5 separate regions of the Homo sapiens genome follow, and regions 1, 2, 3 and 4 are each linked to region 5. Evidence: promoter capture Hi-C in human tissues and cell types (Jung and others, 2019). All regions are on one chromosome and are shown on one strand. Each heading gives the region's core, a stretch centred on a gene start or on the middle of the fragment in contact. The rest is flanking DNA. Distances are from core to core; before and after follow the strand shown. Region 1 overlaps RPLP2 (ribosomal protein lateral stalk subunit P2). Region 2 holds the start of CEND1 (cell cycle exit and neuronal differentiation 1). Region 3 holds the start of POLR2L (RNA polymerase II, I and III subunit L). Region 4 overlaps CHID1 (chitinase domain containing 1). Region 5 holds the start of RNH1 (ribonuclease/angiogenin inhibitor 1).

Region 1 (4,464 bases), core at 922-3,421, 310 kb before region 5:
AGGGAGACCTCTGCTCCCATTTCCACAGCTGGGTCAGGCTGTTTTGGGTACATGTTCCTCCCTCCAGGCCCCTGGGAGGCTCAGGAGCCAGGAACTGGGCGGTCCTTCCCAGAATCCTGGCAAGGGCTGGGAGCACCCCACCATCAGGACAAGCTCCAAGGGGCAGCTCAATGAGAAACCCAGGTGGTGTGACGTCCCCCTATCATGGTGAACTCCAGGCGACACAGGCCCCCTCCCTTCAGGGTCCAAGGCTGGAATTGTGAGGTCTGCACCCTGAAGCCTAGGTCCACTCCTGCTGTGGGCCCCTTCCCTGAGCCTGGGCCATCCCCAGCACCAACCTTACCCCTGCCTCCTTGTAGGGAGCACTGCTCCCTGAGCCTGGGCGATCCCCAGCCCCCGCCTCACCCCTGCCCCGTTGTAGTGAGCACTGCTCCCTGCACTCCTTAGCTGTACCCTGCTGGGGTCATTTCTCTTTGCTTCCTCCTCCATCTGCTGCCCCACCCCTACTACCCAGGTTCCGGCCTCCTCCACTCCTCACCTGGCTTTACTCCCACCCTAATCTCTGCTTTTACGGGCATCCAAAAAGGTTTTTTTAAAAATATTATTAAGGCCGGGCACGGTGGCTCACACCTGTAATCCCAGCACTTTGGGAGGCCAAAGCAGGTGGGTTGCCTGAGCCAAGAGTTTGAGACCAGCCTGGCCAACGTGGTGAAACCCCATCTCTACAAAAAGATACAAAAATTAGCTGTGTTGGTGGCACACATCAGTAGTCCCAGTTACTCTGGAGGCTGAGGTGGGAAGATCACTTGAGCCTGGGAGGTCAAGGCTGCCATGAGCCAAGATCCTGCCACTGCACTCCAACCTGGGCAACACAGTGAGCCTCCGACTCAAAATATAAGATAAAATACAAAATAAAACAAAATATAAATGTAGGCCAGGCACAGTGGCTCACGCCTGTAATCCCAGCAGTTTCAGAGGCCGAGGCAGGAGGATCATTTGAGGCCAGGAGTTTGAGACCAACCTAGGCAACATGATGAAACCCCATCTCTACTAAAAATACAGAAATTAGCCAGGTGTGGAGGCGCGTGCCTGTAATTCCAGCTGCTCAAGAAGCTGAGGCATGAGAATTGCTTGAACCTGGAATGCAGAGGTTGCAGTGAGCCGAGATCGTGCCACTGCACTCCAGCCTGGACGACTAGAGCGAAACTCTGTCTCAAAAAATAAATAATGCCTGAAATCCCAGCACTTTGGGAGGCCGAGGTGGGCAGATCACGAAATCAGGAGATCGAGACCATCCTGGCTAACACGGTGAAACCCCGTCTCTACTAAAAAAAAAAATACAAAAATTAGCCGGGCGTGGTGGTGGGCACCTGTAGTCCCAGCTACTCTGGAGGTTGAGGTGAAGAATTACTTGAACCTGGGAGGTGGAGGTTGCAGTGAGCCGAGATCATGCCACTGCACGCCAGCCTGGGCGACAGAGTGAGATCACGTCTGGAAAAAATAAATAAATAAGGTAGCCGGGCGCGGTGGCTCACGCCTGTAATCCCAGCAGTTTGGGAGGCCGAGGCGGGCAGATCACGAAGTCAGGAGATCGAGACCATCCTGGCTAACACAGTGAAACCCCATCTCTACTAAAAAAAAAAAAAATACAAAAAATTAGGTGGGCGTGGTAGCGGGCGCCTGTAGTCCCAGCTACTCTGGAGGCTGAGGCAGGAGAGTGGCGTGAACCCGGGAGGCGGAGCTTGCAGTGAGATGGCGCCACTGCACTCCAGCCTGGGCGACAGAGCGAGACTCTGTCTCAAAAAAAAAAAAAAAAGAAAGAAAGAAGAAAGGCTAGGCGCAGTGGCTCATGCCTGTAATCCCAGCATTTTGGGAGGCCAAGGCGGGCGGATCACCTGAGGTCAGGAGTTCCAGACCAGCCTGGCCAACATGGTGAAACCCCATCTTTTCTAAAAATACAAAAAATTAGCTGGGACTGGTGGCAGGCACCTGTAGTCCCAGCTACTCAGGAGGCTGAGGCAGGAGAATCACTTGAACCAGAGAGGCGCAGGTTGCAGTGAGTGGAGAGTGTGCCACTTGCACTCCAGCCTGGGTAACAAGAGCAAAAGTCCATCTCAAAAAGAAAAAAAACAAAATAAATAAAAAGCATCTTGGGTCCCCCTCCATCTCAGTACTTTCTGTGGCTCCCTGGCTCCAACAATCCACATTCCTTCCCCTCCAGGGACTCTGCCTTCCTCCAGGTCTTGCCTTCCCATCTGAGGGAGGCCTCCCCCAGCCACCCCAACTGTCTTCTGTGCTATAGCCTATTTATCCTCCCAGAACTAAGGTGGTCACACAGCAGGTGCTCCCCACACCAAAGCCAGCGGGTGGGTTGCTGACCCCAAGCCTAGGGTGGGAGTGGCAGACCATCTTCTGGGTGCCTACGTTGGCGGGCAAAGACCCTGAGGCCTGGGAGACTGCGTACGGAGTAAGGCCAGGAGGGCAGAGAGGCTGGGAGGGGAGGGTGATGGCCTCTGTCCTTAGCCCTGTATTCCAGGACAGAGCCTGTCGGGGGAGGGCAGGCCCATCCCCAAAGGACCTAGTTCAGTGAGCACATGGCCCTGTGGTCACTTCCCACAAGCCCTGAGCACATCTGCCCAGTAAGGCAGGGGTGGGCTGTGATCGGCAAAAAAACAAGCCTGAGGAGTGATTGCCCAAGTTGCTCAGGGCATTATGGCGGAGCCATGACCCCTGCAGGGAAACCCAGGGGCGTCTGCCACCCCCAAGCTGGGCTCACTTCCTGCATCCATTTGTAGAGCCCAGGGGCTACCAATCCTGTCCTTGCAAGTCCAGGCACCAAGCCACCCCAAAGACAGAGCCCTGATTACCCAAACTCCATTGAAATCAGCTTCTCTGCTGTCCTTTTTTTTCAAGACAGGGTTTCTGCTGCTCAGGATGGAGTGCAGTGGCACTATCACGGCCCACTGTTAACTTCAACCTCCTGGGCAAGTGATCCTTCCATCTCAACTTCCCATAGTTGGGACTACAGGTGCACACCACGCCTTGTTAGGTTGTTTTTTAGAGATGGGGTCTTGCTATTTGCCCAGGCTGGTCTCAAACTGCTGGCCTCAAGTGATCTTCCCTCCTCGGCCTCCCAAAGTGCTGGGATAATGGGCACGAGCTACTGTGCCCAGCCCGTTCGCATTCTTCTGGGGTGTACTCAGGAGCTAGGATACTGCTCAAGGCCACAGGAAGGGACCCCAGGCAGCTGTGATGCCCAGACTCCCCTCCTCATGCTCATTTTGCACCAGAAACGCTTCCCCAATACCATGTTGCCCACACTTCAGCTCCACACCTGCCCTCTTGGATAAGAACCTGGGCAGAGGCCACCCTTGACAAAGTGCTCATGGAATACTTGAGAGATGTGTAAAAAGGCTTTATTTGCAGGGGAGCAGGAATTTAATCAAAAAGGCCAAATCCCATGTCATCATCTGACTCTTCAGACTCCTCCTTCTTCTCATCTTTCTTCTCCTCTGCTGTGGAACAGAGGAGAGGCATGGTGAGCACTGCCCAAGTGCCAGGCCAGTCCCCCCATGAAGACCCCACTGCAGCAACACCGTCTGAGCCCCAGCCCCTTGCCCACTCACCAGGCCACCACTTACCTGCAGCAGGGGCAGAACCAGCAGCAGGGGCTGCAGAGCCTGGGGCAGCAGAGACGGCTACAGCCCCACCAGCAGGTACACTGGCAAGCTTGCCAATACCTACAGAAAGCAGAGAGGTGAGACCAGAGCAGCTGCCCAGCCTGGGAGGCTGTTCCACAGGGAAGTTAGATGGCACCAGAGATGGCACATGGCACCCAACATATCTGGACCCACCATATGCCAGTGTCTCCCGTTCTTCCTGAACACTCCCTCCCTGAGCCACTCCTCAACGGGGACTTCTCTTCCCCACCTTTCCTATCCAGGGACTTGCCTTCTAGGAATTAGGCCCACACTGCCTGCCTGCCCAATTTCCCCACCTCCACCCTCAGAGGTCCACTGGACAGACATGTTCATAACTAGGTAGGGAATGAGTGTGCTGCCCCAGTATCCACATCTCTGGCCACAACGCTGTGTTCATGGCTTGGCCCGTTTGCTGAGCTGGCCCTGTCGTGGTCACATGCATGGAAGACAAGAACAGCTGCCCCAACAGCTCAACTTCCAAACAAGTTCCACCAGCTCAGCTGAAGCCAACAAAAAACCATCTGCCCAACAAAGAGGCAAGGAGCCTATGGACATCCCTGGCACCCTCAGTCCCTGCCCCCAACCCCCTCACAGAAAGCATGTGGTAAGGACTGCTGACGTGAACTCAGTTCTCCAGACACCAAGCTTCAGACAAATCCTGGGGAATGGCCTCAGGGCTAGGAGCAGTCAGGCTTAAGAGGCAGGGCCACCTAAACGTCTGCTGAGAACACAGGGTGCCCCCTGCTGCCCTGCTCCTGAGAGT
Region 2 (4,379 bases), core at 1,093-3,592, 280 kb before region 5:
CCCGCTCTTTGCCAACCTGAACCAGCTGGGCCGCCCGGCGTCCGAGGAGAAGTCGCCTTTCTACGTGTCCTTCCTGGCCGGCTGTGTGGCTGGGAGTGCCGCCGCTGTGGCCGTCAACCCCTGTGATGGTCAGTGCATGGGATGGCGCCCGGCTGGGGATGGGGCGGGACTGAGCCCTTGGCCAGGCTCACACTGACCCGAGCGCCCCTTGCAGTGGTGAAGACGCGGCTCCAGTCACTTCAGCGAGGCGTCAACGAGGACACCTACTCTGGGATCCTGGACTGTGCCAGGTGGGGAGGTCCCACGGCGGGTGGGGCCTGGGGGCCTGCGTACCGGGCTGACCCTTTCGTCCTTCCTCCACAGGAAGATCCTGCGGCACGAGGGCCCCTCGGCCTTCCTGAAGGGCGCCTACTGCCGCGCGCTGGTCATCGCGCCCCTTTTCGGCATCGCACAGGTGGTCTACTTCCTGGGCATCGCGGAGTCCCTGCTGGGGCTGCTGCAGGACCCCCAGGCCTGAGCCCAGCACCCGCTCCACCCCAGCCAGCTGGGCAGGGCCGGTGTGGGGCTGGAGCCAGGCAGCTAGCCCAGGACGGAGCAAGGGAAGACCCCTCCCCAGCCCTCCCGTCGGCAGGGGCAGCAGGGGGCAGGGTGCAGGGTCCACATAGGTGGTGCACACGCAAGCCCCCCGGGGTGCTGCCTGCACCGTTGGGATCAATGTCTCATTTATGTAGAAAATGCAGAAATCTTTACATTCCTCAAGCTAGCCCCTGCCCCAATCCTGCCCTGGCCTGAACACCCCCAGGGACAGAGCTGGTCTCTGGGCTGGGGGCCCCCGGGCCTGGGCCGGGCAGGCTGGACCATACCCCCAGTCCACCAGCTCCAGTCTCCACAGCCATCCTGGCCCACACAGGCACCCCACACAAACCTATTTATTGAATCTGCTGGACCCAAGCGGCTCTCCAGCCCTTCCGTCCTTCCCCAGCCGCTCTTGTCGCCTTGGCAGGACTTGACTCTGCCTCCCTGGCCAGCCTTGCAAGAGGACTGGGGTCTCCTGCCCTCTCTGTTGAGCCAGGAATCCCAAGTGAGGGGTTGCCCTGAGGTCTGACTCTTGGGGCAAGCCCGCCACCCACTGTGGGACTTTCTGGTGGGCTCCTCAGCTCCCACCCCAGGCTGGGGCCCAGATTGTGAGGTCTGTGTGCATGTGTGTGTGTATGTGTGTGTGCATGCGTGTGTGTGTTGTGGGGATCTGGCCTGGCCCTTGGGGATGGGGCTGCTGGGGACTGCCCCCCTTCCCGCCGTGGCCAGGCGCTCTGTGTGCTGTGTGTGCCCCAGGCTCTGTTGACCCCGTCCAGGAACTAACTTACCCAGCTTGGTCTCTCCTGAGTCCTCCACCCTGGCCTGGGATTGGCCAGGGAGCAGGGCGGGCATTGGGACCAGTGTGGAGCCTGAGGGTGCCTGCCCTGCTCTGGAGGGAGGGCCAGGAGCTGCCACACCCCCAAGTCCTCTCAGGGCCCACCCTCCTTTTTCAGCCTCTGCATAAGGCCCCTGGGTACACTGCAGAAGCCCCATCCTTCCCGCCTCCGGGCATAAGGCCCCTGACCACACTTCAGAAGCCCCATCCCCCCTGCCACCGGGCGATCCCTGCTGTGAGCCGAAGCTCTCCCTGCCCCGCCCTGGCCATGTGATCGTGTTGGTGACAGACCCTGATGTGCTGGTGCTGTGTCCCCAAAACCGGGGCCCTCCACAGAGGCCCCTTCCCAGCGACACTACCTGGGGCTCAGGCCTGGACCCCCCCAGTTCACGGTTGCTCCTGGGAGCTGCCCCTCCCGTCACATCAGAACCTTGGAAGCTGCTGCTGCTGCTTACAGAATTATATTTTTTTCTTTTGAAGAGTTTTAAGAAGTTGTAACTTTTTGTGTCTTGTCATGTCAGAGAATAAATAAATATTCTAAGTAGATGCTGCTGTCTGTCTGGGGGTCTGTTTGGGGGCGGGGGAGGGCAGTCCCCTCTTCCCATAACTGGCTCCCTTCAGACTGCAGGGCTAGGCCTGCGCACCCACCCACCGACCCCTCACCCACCGACCCGTCACCCACCGACCAAGGGGCACCCTGGCCTAGAGGGGATGCTGAGCGGGACCCGCCTCCTGCCTCTGGCAGTCCCAGATGGGACTTGGACCCCGCAGTTGCTCTCTCGGACCCTAAGTTTCTACCCCTGGATCTAAGGCGGAGCTGGGTTTGCGGATCCCACGGTTCCCGGCGGGGCGGGGCCCGGTCGCCCCTCCCCCTCCCCGCCCTCCTGCGCCGGGAGCAGTGCATTGTGGGAAACTCCCGAGCTCTCCTCCGCGTTCGCAGCCGCCGTCATCCCGCGGAGGAGCGCGCAGCCCCGGGGAGGCCGGAGGACGCGTAAGGCGGGGGGCTCCCGGCGGGCGGGGCGGGCGGGGCGGGCGCGGCGTCCTGCGGGGCGAGGAGGCGGCTCCGGGCCTTGAAGGTCACTGGGTTTGCGCGCGGGCCCCCCAGTTCTCCAGGGCTCAGTTGATCCCGGGAGAGGGAGGCGGCGGCCGGGATGTAAGTGCCACAAATAGCGAGGTTGGGGGGGCAGACCACCTGCTCTTTGCAAACTTGATGCCCAGCAGCTGAGCCCCCCGAGAACTGCAGGGGTGAAGGGACGGCTGGGCTTCCCTGGGAGGTGGCAGCAGCTGGGCCTCTTCTGGAGACGCCCTCATCATGCTGTGACCTTCGGGTGACCTTCAGTGTGGTCAATGCACCTGGCGGGGGGTGGGGAACGTGCCTCCCTTTCTCTGCAGGTCTGGAGGGCATTTCTCATCCTTCCCTGGGAGAGGCAGACAGGCGGCCTCTGGGGCTTTGGGGCAAGACCCACTCAGGTTCAGGGCGGCTGGGCCCCCAGGGCCCTTCCCACCTCTGCCTCGGTCATTGAGAATCTGGGCACCGCCTTTCCCACAGCCCAGAACCCTGTCCTCCGCCCTGACCCGCGGGCCAAGTGCAGCATGTGCCCACCCTGTTTAACGCCAGGAACCCTCTGCCCACAGAGACAGCACAGCCTTGGGCTGGGCGAGGACTCCCTGCTCCAGGGCTGGAGGCAGGCACGGCCCATGCTGAGGAGGGGGCCCCAGAGGCTGGGGAGGGGCAGACGGCCCTTGGAAGCACAGCCCCACGCTGACTTCCTGGAGAGACACCCCAGTTTTCTCAAGTCTGGGTTCTTGTGGGCCCACCCACCCTGATGGCTGCCTGAGATCCCAGCTCCTGCCCCTCCCCGCCCTCCTCCCCCTGGGACCCTGGCCAGGTCACAGCCTCCGTGCTTTAGTGTCCATCTCTGCAAAGCAGGAATGCTCTCCTGAGGAGGGGATGCAGTCAGCTCTCCCACTGGGGCTCCGATCACCTCCTTGGAGGGGAGAATGCTCTTCCTTCGAGTTCTCTGGGCCTGATCCTTACTTCCCCACCAAGAGCCTCCTGCCCCCGGCTGGTGGGAGGATGTGGCATTTGCATGGGCCATTTTATGGAGCACAGTGGGGTCCCCTACCTCCTCCCACCTGTGCGTGGCCCTTGCCTCTGCGGCTGGAGGGGCCCCTTGAGGAGTGGTCATGGACAGATGGAGTCCAGGCCGTGAAAGAGAAGTGTCAGAGGCCCACGGGAGGCCCCTGAGCTGGGGCTCCAGAGAGTCCAGAGAACTGGGCAGGGGCTGCCTGGGGACCAGGTGGTCGGGGCAGCACAGGGGGGACTGGACCCGCGCGCAGCCTCCCTTGTGTCTCCCTCCAGGCCCATAGAATGCCCAGGGGCGACAAACTGTCCTGAGCCCCTCTGGTGCAGCCACCTGCCTGTCCCATACGCCCCGCCCACCATGGAGTCCAGAGGGAAGTCAGCCAGCAGCCCCAAGCCCGACACCAAGGTGCCCCAGGTCACCACCGAGGCCAAGGTACCCCCGGCAGCCGATGGGAAAGCCCCCTTGACCAAGCCCTCGAAGAAGGAGGCCCCGGCCGAGAAGCAGCAGCCGCCAGCAGCCCCCACCACGGCACCTGCCAAGAAGACCTCGGCCAAGGCCGACCCTGCCCTTCTCAACAACCACAGCAACCTGAAGCCAGCCCCCACGGTCCCCAGCAGTCCCGATGCAACCCCGGAGCCCAAGGGTCCTGGGGACGGGGCGGAGGAAGATGAGGCTGCCAGTGGGGGGCCTGGGGGCCGAGGTCCCTGGTCCTGTGAGAACTTCAACCCCCTGCTGGTGGCTGGGGGTGTGGCCGTGGCAGCCATAGCCCTGATTCTCGGTGTGGCCTTCCTGGTCCGGAAAAAATAATACCTGGGGGCCAGGCGGGGGGCACGGAGCCACTTCCTGTACAGACCCGAGGAAGCCAGTGCATGCAGAGTTCA
Region 3 (4,463 bases), core at 13-2,512, 340 kb before region 5:
CAAACCAGCCCAGAGCCCCCCATGGGTGCCGCTTTGCGGCCCACCCACCCCCACAGCCCACCTCGCACCTCCAAGGAGCCTTCTTTGCCTCTCACTGCACACCGACCCCCCATTTCCTCACCCCCACCCCAGGGGCACAGCAAGAAGGGTGCTGGTGCCAGCCCCCCCGCACTCCATCCGAGAGACACGGGCTCCTCGTCCCTCGTCGTCCGTAGGCCCTGAGCTCCAGGGCAAGCCAGAGCTGAGGCCTTCAGGGGGTCCTGCCAGTGCAGCCTCCGGGAGTCTGCCCAGGGATCCCCTGTGCCGGGGTCTTCCAGGTTCAGCTCAAAAAGCACCTCTTCCACGACTCCCTCCCCGACCTCCCTCCCGGGTCCCCTCTCCCCGTGCTCAGAGGCGCGTCTGAGCGTCGGGAGCTCGGGACGGCGAGCAGCCAGCAGAGCCGGGACCCGGGAGGGCGCACCCCGACCCCATTCCCGGGAAAGAGCGGAAAGAACGCGGACAGGAGCCCGGGGCGGGGAGCTGCCGGCGGGGGCTGTAATTGCGCAGCTGAGGCCAGGGCGGCGCCCCTAGGGGCTGGGCCGCGTCCAGAATGGGACCCCCGAACTCAGCGCCGAGAGCCCCGGACACCCCGCGGGCAGAGGCCGAGGCGGAGGAACCCACTACTCGGCGCGGCCAGGAGGGGCGGCAGGAAGACCCGCCCCGGCCCCCGCCCGCCCTCTCCCCGAGCCCCCGCGCCGGACCCCACTTGTTGCTGCGTGTCGGCTCTGGGCTCGAACTCGCGCGCCCCGCTCGCGTCCGGCTCCAGCCGCTCCCGGTCGGACACCTCCGGCCACGGGACCCTGGCCGCACGCCCCCACAACCCCCAGGCGCAGTACCTGCGCCGCCGCCTCCCGCTCGCGCCGCCCGCTCCCGCCGCGCAGCTGTCAGTCAAGCGGACACGAGAAACGCGAACCGCCGCCGCAGCTTTACGGCCCTGCTCAGACGCCGTAGCGCCGGGATGCACCAAGACGGTGGGCGGGGGTGTGCGGTCTGCTGCTGCCGCGGCCGCGCGGGCCCGGGAGCCCCGGGACGCACAGGCCCAGGAGCCCCGGGACGCACGGGAAGCCCCTATCGCGGCGGAAACTGCGGCCAGCGGTGGCGGGGCCGGTGGAGGGACGGCCGGAACAGCGGAGAACGAGCGGAGCCGATTCTCCCGCAACAGTGGACGCGCCCGGGGCGGGGCCTGGGGGGGTTCTTCGCGTGCGGCCGGGCCGGGCCGGGCAGTCTGGGACGCGCCGCCGCCATGATCATCCCTGTACGCTGCTTCACTTGTGGCAAGATCGTCGGCAACAAGTGGGAGGCTTACCTGGGGCTGCTGCAGGCCGAGTACACCGAGGGGTGAGGCGCGGGCCGGGGCTAGGGGCTGAGTCCGCCGTGGGGCGCGGGCCGGGGCTGGGGGCTGAGTCCGCCCTGGGGTGCGCGCCGGGGCGGGAGGCGCAGCGCTGCCTGAGGCCAGCGCCCCATGAGCAGCTTCAGGCCCGGCTTCTCCAGCCCCGCTCTGTGATCTGCTTTCGGGAGAACCTTATCCCCTGAAGTCTGGGGAAGAGAACGGAGTTGGGCTTCAAACCAGTGGTGTCCTGGGGATTCTAGGTGGCCTGGCGGGTCGCAGGCGTCTTGTCACCCGCAGTAAAGCCCTTGGCCTCCGCCCTATTCCCATCTCTGCCCCCAGGCCCACCCCATGTCCTGCAAACCTCGCTGCAGGACGGGCGGGCGCGGCGGCTGACATCTGTAATCCCAGCAGTTTGGGAGGCCGAGGCGAGAGGCTTGCTTGAGCCCAGGAGGTCGAGACCAGCCTGGACAACCTGGGGAGACCCTGATCTCCAGAAATTTATTTTATTTTATTTTTCTTTTTTGAGACGGAGTCTCGCTCCGTCGCCCAGGTTGGAGTGCAGTGGCGCGATCTCGGCTCACTGCAACCCCCGCCTCCTGGGCTCCAGCAATTCTCCTGTCTCAGCCTCCCGAGTAGCTGGGACTACAGGCGTGTGCCACCACGCCCGGCTAATTTTTGTATTTTCAGTAGAGATGGGATTTCGCCATGTTGGCCAGGCTGGTCTGGAACTCCTGACCTCAGGTGATCCACCCGCCTCGACCTCCCAAAGTGCTGAGGTTACAGGCGTGAGCCACCGCGCCTGGCTCTATCTTTTTAATTCGCCGGACATGGCGGTGCACACCTGTGGTCCCAGCTACTTGGGAGGCTGAGACGAGAAAATCGCTTGAGTCTGGGAGGCAGGTGGAGGTTGCAGTGAGCCAAGATCACGCCACTGCACTCCAGCCTGGAAGAGAGAGTGAAACTCCGTCTCACGCACACACACACACAGAAAAAGAAATGCAGGGTAGACTTGCTGACCACCCTCATCAGGCTTTGTAGGGGAGGCGTCTTTCTCCTGTGCTTGTCCCTTGGTGCTGCTGTCACCACGGTGCCTGAGTCTTGGTGCCCCCGCTGGAGTCTGACCCTCGCCCACTGAGTCTTCGTCACATGTGAAGCCCTGGGCTTGTGTGCGCCAGCCTGCCATCGGCACTTGGTGCAGCTTGCTGGACAAACGAGGAAAGCGAGTGGGCTGCTAGACTGAGTGGCTGGCGGCCTGTCCAGACCCTTTCCCCGGATAGGAACGGCAGGGGCCTCCCATGTGGCCTCCCCTTTCCCAAGCTTCTGTGTCTCTGCACATTGGAGCCATCGGTGTGGGAGTTTTCTGGAGGTCTTGAGGGTGACTGGAGCTAGGTCCCAGGGAAATGAAAGCTTCTAATTGGCTTGGGAAGTGGGAGAGGTGGCTCCGTGGAGAAGCAGTCTCTCTCTGATGGAAGGAAGCAGAGGTGAGGAAAGACCCCACAGCGGCAGAGCAGGGCTTGCTCTGGCTGGGGTGGGGGTGAACCAGCTAAGGGCAGGCCCCTGGAGAGCTACCCTGCCGTGGCCAGTGCTGGATGAGGTGGCTGCACATCAGCACCTTGGTGGTCTTGGTTTTCTAAGCTCCCCGCAATTACTTCGTTTTCATTTCATTTACATTTCTTACATACGTTATACACACACACGTACAGCCAGAGTAGGTGGGAGAGGAGGCTCCTCACGCTCCACCCAGGGTTCTGGGCATTTCCAGGTTACTCCAGCCAGGATCATACTGCTAGATCTCAGCTTCTGAGCCGGGTGAATCTGTTCGCCTTGCCGGTGGCGGGGGGGGTGAGGCCAGCAGGCAGTGAGAGGCAGGTTGGATGTGGGCTCCAGGCCTTTGCAGACCGTAGAGAACTCAGTTGGCCTCTGCTCCTCCCCTCGACACAGGGATGCGCTGGATGCCCTGGGCCTGAAGCGCTACTGCTGCCGCCGGATGCTGCTGGCCCACGTGGACCTGATCGAGAAGCTGCTCAATTATGCACCCCTGGAGAAGTGACCACGCTGGAACCCACCCACCCGCTGTGCTGACCATGGGCCCTGAGCGTCCTGCCCCGAATTCACGAGGCTGAGGCATCCGGGAGCTGGCGTAATGCCTGGCCGCAGTGTGTGTGTATCCGATACCCCACTCTGGAAGGAACCATCCAGTAAAGGTCTTTCAGAACCACTAAGGTCCCAGCCCTCACTAGGATGTCAGGAGCCAGGTCTAGGCCCAGCTTTCACACTGTGGCAGCCCAGTGAAGCAGACTGGGCCATGAACTCTCCTAGCCCTGGGGCCAGCCTGTTCCACAGGCACCCCTGCAGGAGGCGCTGCCAGGAGAGCCTTCCATCTCGGGGCTCTTTGAGGTTCCCTCCTTCTGGGTGTTCTTCAGGCTGAGCAGAGAGGCTCCTGTACCCTCTCTCTCGGAATCTGAAGAGCCAGATTTAGGCCGGGCAAAGGGGCTCACCCCTATAATCCCAGGACTTTGGGAGGCCAAGGCAGGAGGATCACTTGAGTCCAGAAATTCAAGACCCGCCTGGGCATCATAATGAGACCCCATCTCTACAACAAAATTTAATAAATTAGCTGGGCACAGTGTTCACACCTGTAGTCCCGGCCACTCGGGGCTGAGGCAGGAGGATCACTGGAACCTGGGAGGTTGCCACTGCAGTGAACTGTGTTTGCACCACTGCACTCCAGCCTGGGCAACAGAGTAAGACTCTGTCTCAACACAACTATGAAAAAGAAGAGAGAAACAGATTTTCTGGGGCCCAGTCTCTGCTGTGGTCAGGGCTGCCAGTACCTGCTGGCCTCTGCCCACTGCTGCCTGTCCCTGAGCGTCCCACCCAAGCCCAGCAGGGAGGGCAGGCCTTAAGACGCTCCTAGCTGGGTTGGGAGGTGGCCCTAAGGAGGCCCTGCTGTCCAGGCAGTGCTGCCAGCAAGCACCCCAGGTCAGATGTCCCTGCTGCCCAGATATCTGGCGTGGTGTCCTCTGGTAGGGGAGAACGGGTCTGCCTGAGGGTCTACAGTTCTGAGCCTTAAGGACAGGAACCTGGGCAGTGG
Region 4 (4,324 bases), core at 214-2,713, 400 kb before region 5:
TCATCACGTTGGCCAGGCTGGTCTTGAACTCCTGATGGGGTGATCTGCCCGGCAGAAAAATATTTTTTGTAGAGACCAGGTCTGGCTGTGTTGCCAAAACCAGTCAAAAACTCCTGGCCTCCCAAAGTGCTAGGATCACAGGCCAGAGCCGCCATGCACCAGTTAGTTCTTCAAAACACAACAGAACAGGAGTTGTCAGTGCGTCCATCGCAGAATAGAGTTAGCTCTGATTGGCTGCTGTCGCTCTACACATGTACACACATGCACAACACATGTGCACACATGACATACACGTGTGCTGGGCTGTGACGTAAAGTGCATTTCTTACTGCTGGTCTCCATGAAAAGCATTGGAAAGCCCCTGCTGTGACTCCCATCATTTCCATCAACACCACCGAGGAGGTCCTGGACCTACGGACTGGGAGCGCAGGAAAGTGGGAGCAGTAGCGCTCCACCTTATCTTGTTACAGAGCGGTTTCTGGGACCCCTTTGGGTGACCAGGGTCGGGGCCTGTGCCTCTTCATAACACAACACATTCCCTTTGTGTGCGGGGCCGTTCTGCCCAAGGGAAGGTCATTGGCATTTGGGGAAGAAACGGTTTGATGCAGGAACACAGTGTGTGTGAACCTGGGAGTCTGTGTTATGTGAAGAGCATGATGGAGAGTGTCCTCACGGGCCTCAGAGCCGAGCGGCCGGTGAGCAGTGGGGAGCGGGAGAGGTACCAAAGCCCAGACAAGGGCCTGGTTGCAGTGTGAGCACCCCTCACACATCACACACACCATCTCCCTGGGGCAGTTGTCTGGAAAGTTCCATGGCAAGTCAAAGAAGCAGCCCAGCATTTGTGAGCAGCCTGTATCCAAGCACTCCATCACAGAGCGGGCAAGTTAAGCGCGAGTGGACAGAGGCAGTACCCTGGCCTTGTGTTCAGTTAGGTTCTCCTAGTGTCCCCTCTGCTGGACACATGCTGGCAGGACTGTCTTCCTCTTCCACCCTTTCCTCTTCCTTCCCTGAAGTGTGAAATCACAGGTTGGGGGGCAGGGAGGTCATAGGCAGAGGGGCCACTAGGTGGGTGGACAGTGGCCCTGTTTCAAATCTGCAGGACGGCAGGTAGGGGCAGAGACCCAGCCCTATAGTGGTTGGTCACTGGGTACCTGAGTGTGCCCTCCAGTTACTCCTGGGCCAGTCCCCTGGAGAACCACCGTTTGGTTTTTCATTCCTTTCCTTCCTCCCTGACCCAGATTTCCACCCAGAAGACAGAGAAGGAGCCAGTGGTCATGGAATGGGCTGGGGTCAAAGACTGGGTGCCTGGGAGCTGAGGCAGCCACCGTTTCAGCCTGGCCAGGCAAGTGATTCTGGGCCGTCTTCCCTGTGCCATGGCCAGAACCCTCCCCACCTTCCCTGGGGCTGTTGCTGACTCAGACCAAGCCTCAGCTGCAGCAGAAAGATAGTGGGGCTAAGGGGAGGTGGCAGCAGGCTGCTGCCCTTGGTTCTGATTCTGGGATGTATCACTGAGGAGAGGGGCTGGAGAGGTTGATCGGGGCAGAGGGTGGTGATCTGTGCCTGGGCCTTCTTATTCCCCCTGCACAGCCTCTCGGAACTGCCGTGGCTGTTCAAGCACTCACTGCCTTTGCCTGTGGCTCCATGTACTGGGTGCTGCTGTGCTTGCCCTGTGAGTTCCCTTCCTAACTCCCCATAAGCCTGCAGGTCAGGCTGTCTTGTGGCTCCCTGCCTCCTAGGTGGGGGAGCTTCACTGGTTGATCTTGCTCCAGGAGCGTGTTCTTTCTATGCAGGTGTGTTGTGGGTGTATTGGGTACCAAAGCATGCAAACTCCCTGCCTGGGGGTAGCCACAGTCTCCTCAGTCTGCACCAGGAGCACCAGTCTCACCCAGGGAAGAGACAGGGCAAAGTGGGGCAGCGTGTGCCTCTGCAGAAGAAAGCAGGTCAAGGGGACGGTTTCAGAGGAAGTGAAAACAGGTTCCTGGCCAGGGAGTCTTTTGGGTAGGAGGGTAGGCACTGTGGTAGGCCTGGCTCTGGCAGCATCTTCTGACAGGTGCACCTGCCTGGCTGGGGTTCCTGGAGCCTCTTGGGCCTGAGCTCCCATATACTCAGGAGCCTGTGACCCAAGGGGAAGGCCATGTGCCCAGCTGCTGGGTAGTGAGTTGGGCTGAGCTCCCCACCTGTCAGGTATCTGCCTCTGCCCAGGCTGTGTGGGCCTCTCAGCTGGTCTAGAGGGGTCTGTGCTGCCAGAGCTGTGAAACTAGCCAAGAGCTTCTTCCCAGCAGTGTCCCAAAGCTTCATGAAGGACTAACAGTCTGGCTGGGCTATGGTGGTGGTTCAGCTCCCACCGCCGCTGCCCCCAACCCCAGTGAAAGATAGAAAGTAGAATCACTTTTTTTTTTTTTTTAAAGACAGTCTCGCACCGTCGCCCAGGCTGGAGTGCACTGGCACTATCTCGGCTCACTGCGAACTCCACCTCCTGGATTCACACCATTCTCCTGCTTCAGCCTCTCGAATAGCTGGGACTACAGGCGCCTGCCACCATGCCTGGCTAATTTTTTGTATTTTTAGCAGAGATGGGGTTTCACCGTGTTAGCCAGGATGGTCTCGATCTCCTGACCTCGTGATCTGCCCGCTTCGGCCTCCCAAAGTGCTGGGATTACAGGCGTGAGCCACCGCGCCCGGCCGGAAAGTAGAATCACTTTTGTTGGTGGCCCCTAGAACCTGAAAGTGAACAGTGTAATAAAAGTTTAGTGCAGGAAGACCAGAAGATACAGATAAAGTAAAAGAGAAGAAACAATGACCAGTAATTCCAGATAGCCTGCTCATTTATTTTTTGTTTTGTTTCTTTGTTTTTGAGAGGGAGTTTTTGCTCCTGTTGCCTAGGCTGGAGTGCAATTGCGCGATCTCGGCTTACCGCAACCTCTGCTTCCCAGGTTCAAGTGATTCTCCTGTCTCAGCGTCCCGAGAAGCTGGGATTACAGGCATGCGCCAGCACGCCCAGCTAATTTTGTATTTTCAGTAGAGACAGGGTTTGTCCATGTTGGTCAGGCTGGTCTCGAACTCCCGACTTCAGGTGATCTGCCTGCCTTGGCCTCCCGACGTGGTGTGATTACAGGCGTGAGCCCCCGCGCCCAGGCTACTTTTTTGTTTTGTTTCTTAAGCTTCCACGTGAAGGGCATGTCGTTTGCTTTCTACCACCCCTCCCTACATGCTTTCTCTGTGGGACTGAACTGTGGAAGTTCTGTCTTGTAGCGTCTTCATTGACCGGCACACCACGAGCATGGCAGTGCCTGTCTGTGTTCCAGCATCTGGGAGAGCCAGGTCCATGAACATCCTCATGTTTTCAACGTATGTGGAAAATCCCCCATGGCTGGGCGCGGTGGCTCATTTTGGGAGGCAGGCAGATCACGGGAGGCCAGGAGCTTGAGACCAACCTGGCCAACGTGGCGAAACCCCATTTCTACTAAAAATACAAAAACTAGCCGGATGTGGTGGCACGCGCCTATAATCCCAGCTACTCGGGAGGCTGAGGTAGGAGAATCGCTTGAACCCAGGAGGTGGAGGTTGCAGTGAGCCAAGATGGCGCCACAGCACTCCAGTGTGGTGACATAGCAAGATTCCAACTCAAAAAAAAAAAAAAAAGTCCCACAGCCGGGCGCAGTGGCTCACACCTGTAATCCCAGCACTTTGGGGGGGCCGAGGTGGGCAGATCACCTGAGGTCAGGAGGTGGAGACCAGCCTGGCCAATGTGGTGAAACCTCATCTCTATTAAAATACAAAAATTAGCCAGGTGTGGTGGTGGCTGGGATCCCAGAGTGCTGGGATTCCAGGCATGAGCCACCGTTCCCAGCCGGGACATTTTTTACTGGAATGTCTTTTCTTGATTTGTGAGATTTATTTGCATGTTATGAATAGATTATGGGTAGAAATCCGTTGTCAAGTGTGTTCCAAATATTCTTTCTGGTTTATTATTTGTCTTCACATTTCCTTCTTTATTTCCTGAATGAAAGTCTTACATTTGTATGTAGTTCTACTCCAGTGGTATTTTCTTTCCTAATCTCTCCCATTGCTCATATAGCTGGAAAAGCCTTCTCCACCCTGAGACTGCATAAATAGGTAGCTATATTTTCTCCTAGTACTTAACGTGGCATCACCACCATCATCGTTATTATCGTAGGCTTCTCTGAGCCTACGATTTTTTTCTTTTTTTTTTTTGAGATGGAGTCTTGCTCTGTCCCCAGGCTGGAGTGCAGTGGCATGATCTTGGCTCACTGCAACCTCTGCCTCCTGGGTTCAAGCGATTCTCTTGCCTCAGCCTCCCGAGT
Region 5 (4,060 bases), core at 407-2,906:
AAGTTTTTGTAATTTTAGTAGAGATGGGGTTTCATCATCTTGGCCAGGCTGGTCTTGAACTCCTGACCTCAGGTGATCTGCCTGCCTTGGCCTCCCAAAGTGTTGGAATTACAGGTGTGAGCCACCGCGCCCAGCCAGAGTTTCATCTTGTTGCCCGAACTGGAGTGCAATGGTGTGGTCTAGGCTCGCTGCAACCTCTGCTTCCCGTGTTCAAGCGATTCTCCTGCCTCAGCCTCCCAAGTAGCTGGAATTACAGGTGCCCACCACCATGCCTGGCTAATTTTTGTATTTTTAGTAGAGATGGGGTTTCACCACGTTGGCCAGGCTGGTCTTGAACTCCTGACCTCAGGTGATCCACCCTTCTCGGTCTCCCAAAGTGTTGGGGTTACAGGTGTGAGCCACCACGCCCGGCCAGAACCACCTTCTTTAAAGATGATCAGGCCGGGTGTAGTGGCTTATGCCAGTAATTCCAGCGATATGGGAGGCTGAAGCAGGAGGATCACTTGAGCCCAATTCAAGACCAGGCTGGGCAACACAGGGAGACCTCTTCTCTACATAAAATACAACAATTAGCCAGGCGTGCTGGCGCCTGTGGTACCAGCTACTTGGGAGGCTGAGGCGGGAGGATCACTGGAGTCCGGGAGGTGGAGGCTGCAGCGAGCTGGGATCGCGCCACTGCAGTACAGCCTAAGCAGTGGAGTGAGACCCTGTCTCGAAAACAAATACCTAATAAAGGCAGTCAGAGGAGAGGTTTAGCAAATTGCTAAAGAACAAATCTGAGATACCGTTAGTTTCCTTACTTGCAATCTTCATCTGCCAAAATGTCAATTCTGTGAATTGCGGACTAGTCAAAAACTTAAAGAAAACCCACTTTTGTGGAGGTGGGGTCGCTTTGCGTTTCCCAGGCTGGTCTGGAACTCGGCCTGCGCCCCTCAGTGCCAGGGCTCCAGGCGACGCTCGGGTGTCGGCAGCAGAGTGGACGCAGGAGCAGCTCGGACCGCGCTCAGAACACTCGGGACGAGGCCGCGGCTCCGCAGGCCTTGCGGGCTGGGGTCCCACGAAACAAAGGCGGCAGCCAGTGGCCAGGACGGGCAGCGTGGTTCACGGGGCCGTGGCTCCCTCGGGGGTCGCGAGCTCGGCGCAAACGAGCCCCTCTACCAAGGTCGCCTAGAGTCGCGACCCCGACATGCGGAGCCGCCCCAGGGGGGTTTCTCCCGGGTCCCTCCTGTCCCGAGGCGGCCGCTTTCTCCGGGGGCCGCGCCCCGCGCCCCAGCAAGGCCCGACCCGCGCCTGCGATTCCGCCCCCAAGGCGCTGCCGCACCGGGCCCCGGCCTCTTCCTCCGAGGATTCTCAGGAATTGCTGAGACTTGCGTGCCAGTGCGAGGCCCACAACACGCACACGCGCCCGCGCCCGCCAGACCCCGCCCCCGGCACCAAGCCCCGCCTACTGGGGGAGACCACGCCCCCAAGCGAGACCTCCCTCACCGAGCCACGCCCCACCAGGCCCCGCCGCTGCGCCAAGACTGTGCTTAGCCGAGCCCCGCCCGCCGGGCCCCGCCCCGACCCCGAGACTACTCCCGCCAGGCCCCGCCCCCGCGCCGAGCCCCGCCCAGTAGTCCCCGCCCACGCACCTGACCACGCCCACGAGCCGGCTCGAACACGCCCGCGCCGCTGACTGGCGGGTGGGGTTGTCGACACGTTCAACCCGTTCTGCTGGCTCGAGAACGAAGTAGGCCGTCTCGCTCTGGGTCTCCAGGCCCGCGACCGTCCGCCAGTCGTCCCGAGGTCAGTAGCTCCAGCGGTGCGTCAGCGTCTAGCCAGGCCTCGCCCACGCCGGCCTTGGTCGGGCTTCTTGTAGACGCGGGCCTGGCGCTATTGAGGCCGTTGCTGCGCGGGCGAGTGGCGCGCTCCCGTGGCGGGGCGGGGTCGGGCGGGGCAGGGGTCCGGGGCTATCGAGGCGGGGCCGAGGTTGCGCTGGGCAGCTGCGCCGCCGGGCGGACGTGGCGCGCCTTGAGGACGTCATCGCGGTGCACGCTCCCCTTTGGGGCTTGCCGGAAGTCCTTGCCCGGGGCGCGGGGCTGCGCCTGCGTGGTTCGTCCTCACGTGGCCGTCAAGCCCTCTAGTGCCTTAGATTCCAGCGAGCTACGCAAGCAATCCTGGCCCAGCCGAGCTTGCTTCCCCAAATCCCGTAATCCTTGACCTTATTCCCCCAAAGAAGCGGCCTCCCGGGAAGGAGCGCCCTGGCGGAGAAGACTCGAACGGCTCCCACAGCCGGGCGTTGGGGGAAAGGTGGGCGGTCTTGGTCGTGCGAGGTCGGGGAGGGAGGGTCCTCCGCTCTCCATTGCGGAGCTTCGCTCCGGGACCACCGGGGGACCGGACGCCGGGCCGCGAAGCTGCCGCCTGGGGCTGCGGGGAGGAGAGCAACATAACTGGAATGGCACTTAGGGGCCGGTGTCAGGGTTGTCACCGGGGTTGGCGGAAATGACGAAGGGGCCCCAGGCACGTCGTGTTACTGGGCGAGGTTCCAGCCAAGGTGCCCACGCGCCTTGGGGGAAACCAGAGGACTTCTGCACCGTTTCCCGAGGACAGTTTGGCAGTGTTTCAGAAGGGCCTTAGAACCAGGCAGGCCCCCTTCTAGGATGGTGGAAAGCCTAAAGATCTGAAAACGGTCTCAAGTGTCGTCTTAGCGATTGGCTGACTAAACCGAATGCAAGCCGGAGACTGCACACGATGTTGCCGTTAACAGTTACACTGGGCCGGGCAGTCAGAGGCAGGCGGATCACCTGAGGTCAGGAGTTCGAGAACAGCCTGGCCAACATGGTGAAAACCCGTCTCTACTAAAAATACAAAATTAGCCGGGCGTGGTGGCAGGCGCCTATAATCCCAGCTACTTGGGAGGTTGAGGTAGGAGAATGGCTTGAACTCAGGAGGCGGAGGTTGCGGTGAGCCGAGATCGTGCCACTGCACTCCAGCCGGCTGACAAGAGCGAAACTCCTTCTCAAAAAAAAAAAAAAAAAAAAAAAGTTACATTAGGCTGGGTGCGCTGCAGCCTGTAATCCCAGCACTTTGGGAGGCCGAGGCGGGCGGATCTCTTGAGCCCAGGAGTTTGCGACCAACATACTGAGTTTGGCCAAAATAGTGAGACCCCCGTCTCTACAAAAGATAGAAAAAATTAGCCAGTTGCGGTAGTGAACGCTTGTAGTCCCAGCTACTTGGGACGCTGAGGGAGGAGGAGCACTTGAGCCCTGGAAGAGGAGGCTGCAGTGAGCTATTTTCTCATCCCTGCTATAACGAATTTGTCACAGGCTGTTTTATAGGCCTGGAGCTCAGAAGCCCGAAGTGAGTTTTAGGAGGTTAAAATCAAGGTGTTGGCAAGGGTAGTTCCTTCTGGAGTTTCCCAAGGAGAATCTGCTTCTTTTCCTCTTCCAACTTCTAGAGGCCACCTTCTTCCATCTTCAAAACCTACTGTCTCTGCATAAGAACTCTCATGATTATATGCCGGCCGCCCAGACACCCCAGGGTAGCCTTCACATCTCAATATTCTTAATATTTGCAAAGTCCCTTTTGCCACTTAAGGTAACACCACAGGTTTGGAGATTAGGAGGTGGACATCTTTCAGGGCCATTCTTATTTTAAAAAATGTACTGTCGATAAGAATAGTTAAAATGTAAAATATTTGAAGGGATTTATTCTGAATCGAATATGAGTGACCGCGGCCGGTGACACAGCCCTCAGGGGATCCTGGGAACATGTGCCCAAGGTGGTTGGGGCAGTTTGGTTTTACATGTTTTAGAGAGACATGAGGCATTAATGAAATACATTTAAGATATCCATTGGTTTGGTCCAGAAAGGCGGGACCAAACAAAAAAAAAAAGATTTTGAACATGCTTCCCGAGCTCAGGCATGAAGAACTCTTGACTGACAGAAACGGAGGGTGTGTCCAAAGTTTTGAGGACGGCCGAGCGGCGCTCCAAAACCCGTCCTCACAGCCTCGCCCCGTTCGCCTCAGCTACAACAAATCATCGTCAACCTGTTCCACCTTCTCCAGTCTGGTAGCAAA

What was found. Contacts are between HindIII fragments. The study calls those that stand out against the background at their distance.
Region 1: a fragment that was not itself captured here is called in contact with the fragment with the promoter of RNH1 in region 5 in 1 of the 25 tissues and cell types used here (spleen).
Region 2: a contact is called between the fragment with the promoter of CEND1 here and the fragment with the promoter of RNH1 in region 5, in 2 of the 25 tissues and cell types used here (bladder and dorsolateral prefrontal cortex).
Region 3: the fragment with the promoter of POLR2L here is called in contact with the fragment with the promoter of RNH1 in region 5 in 3 of the 25 tissues and cell types used here (aorta, lymphoblastoid cells and spleen).
Region 4: a fragment that was not itself captured here is called in contact with the fragment with the promoter of RNH1 in region 5 in 1 of the 25 tissues and cell types used here (spleen).

The regions. Positions count from the first base shown.
Region 1 is chr11:811,811-816,274 of GRCh38, reverse strand. It overlaps RPLP2 (ribosomal protein lateral stalk subunit P2), which reads right to left. Exons shown (of 5, transcript NM_001004.4): 4 at 3,642-3,740; 5 at 3,399-3,515. The coding sequence ends at 3,439. It overlaps SNORA52 (small nucleolar RNA, H/ACA box 52), which reads right to left; the gene lies at 4,461-4,464. Among named protein-coding and RNA genes, the nearest start is that of SNORA52, 2.4 kb to the right of the region's middle. RefSeq lists enhancers at 3,488-4,228, 4,229-4,464. The HindIII fragment of the contact is 3,735 bases long and covers 304-4,038 here.
Region 2 is chr11:788,053-792,431 of GRCh38, reverse strand. It overlaps CEND1 (cell cycle exit and neuronal differentiation 1), which reads left to right and starts at 2,342. Exons shown (of 2, transcript NM_016564.4): 1 at 2,342-2,402; 2 at 3,774-4,379. The coding sequence starts at 3,856. The coding sequence ends at 4,305. SLC25A22 (solute carrier family 25 member 22) reads left to right here. Exons shown (of 10, transcript NM_001191061.2): 8 at 1-128; 9 at 215-290; 10 at 364-1,957. The coding sequence ends at 517. RefSeq lists a silencer at 2,202-2,431. The HindIII fragment of the contact is 19,046 bases long and covers 1-4,379 here.
Region 3 is chr11:839,328-843,790 of GRCh38, reverse strand. POLR2L (RNA polymerase II, I and III subunit L) reads left to right here and starts at 1,262. Exons shown (of 2, transcript NM_021128.5): 1 at 1,262-1,377; 2 at 3,311-4,070. The coding sequence starts at 1,283. The coding sequence ends at 3,419. TSPAN4 (tetraspanin 4) reads right to left here and starts at 939. Exons shown (of 9, transcript NM_003271.5): 1 at 876-939. RefSeq lists silencers at 267-435, 421-650, 671-760, 871-1,500, 3,729-3,778 and enhancers at 769-1,512, 1,513-2,258, 2,259-3,003. The HindIII fragment of the contact is 28,886 bases long and covers 1-4,463 here.
Region 4 is chr11:905,559-909,882 of GRCh38, reverse strand. The region is part of intron 1 of CHID1 (chitinase domain containing 1); the gene reads left to right. Among named protein-coding and RNA genes, the nearest start is that of CHID1, 3.1 kb to the left of the region's middle. The HindIII fragment of the contact is 5,018 bases long and covers 1-3,972 here.
Region 5 is chr11:504,838-508,897 of GRCh38, reverse strand. It overlaps RNH1 (ribonuclease/angiogenin inhibitor 1), which reads left to right and starts at 1,656. Exons shown (of 11, transcript NM_203387.3): 1 at 1,656-1,785; 2 at 3,902-4,060. It also overlaps a transcript of LRRC56 not described here. RefSeq lists a cis regulatory region at 2,302 and an enhancer at 2,218-2,387. The HindIII fragment of the contact is 14,362 bases long and covers 1-4,060 here.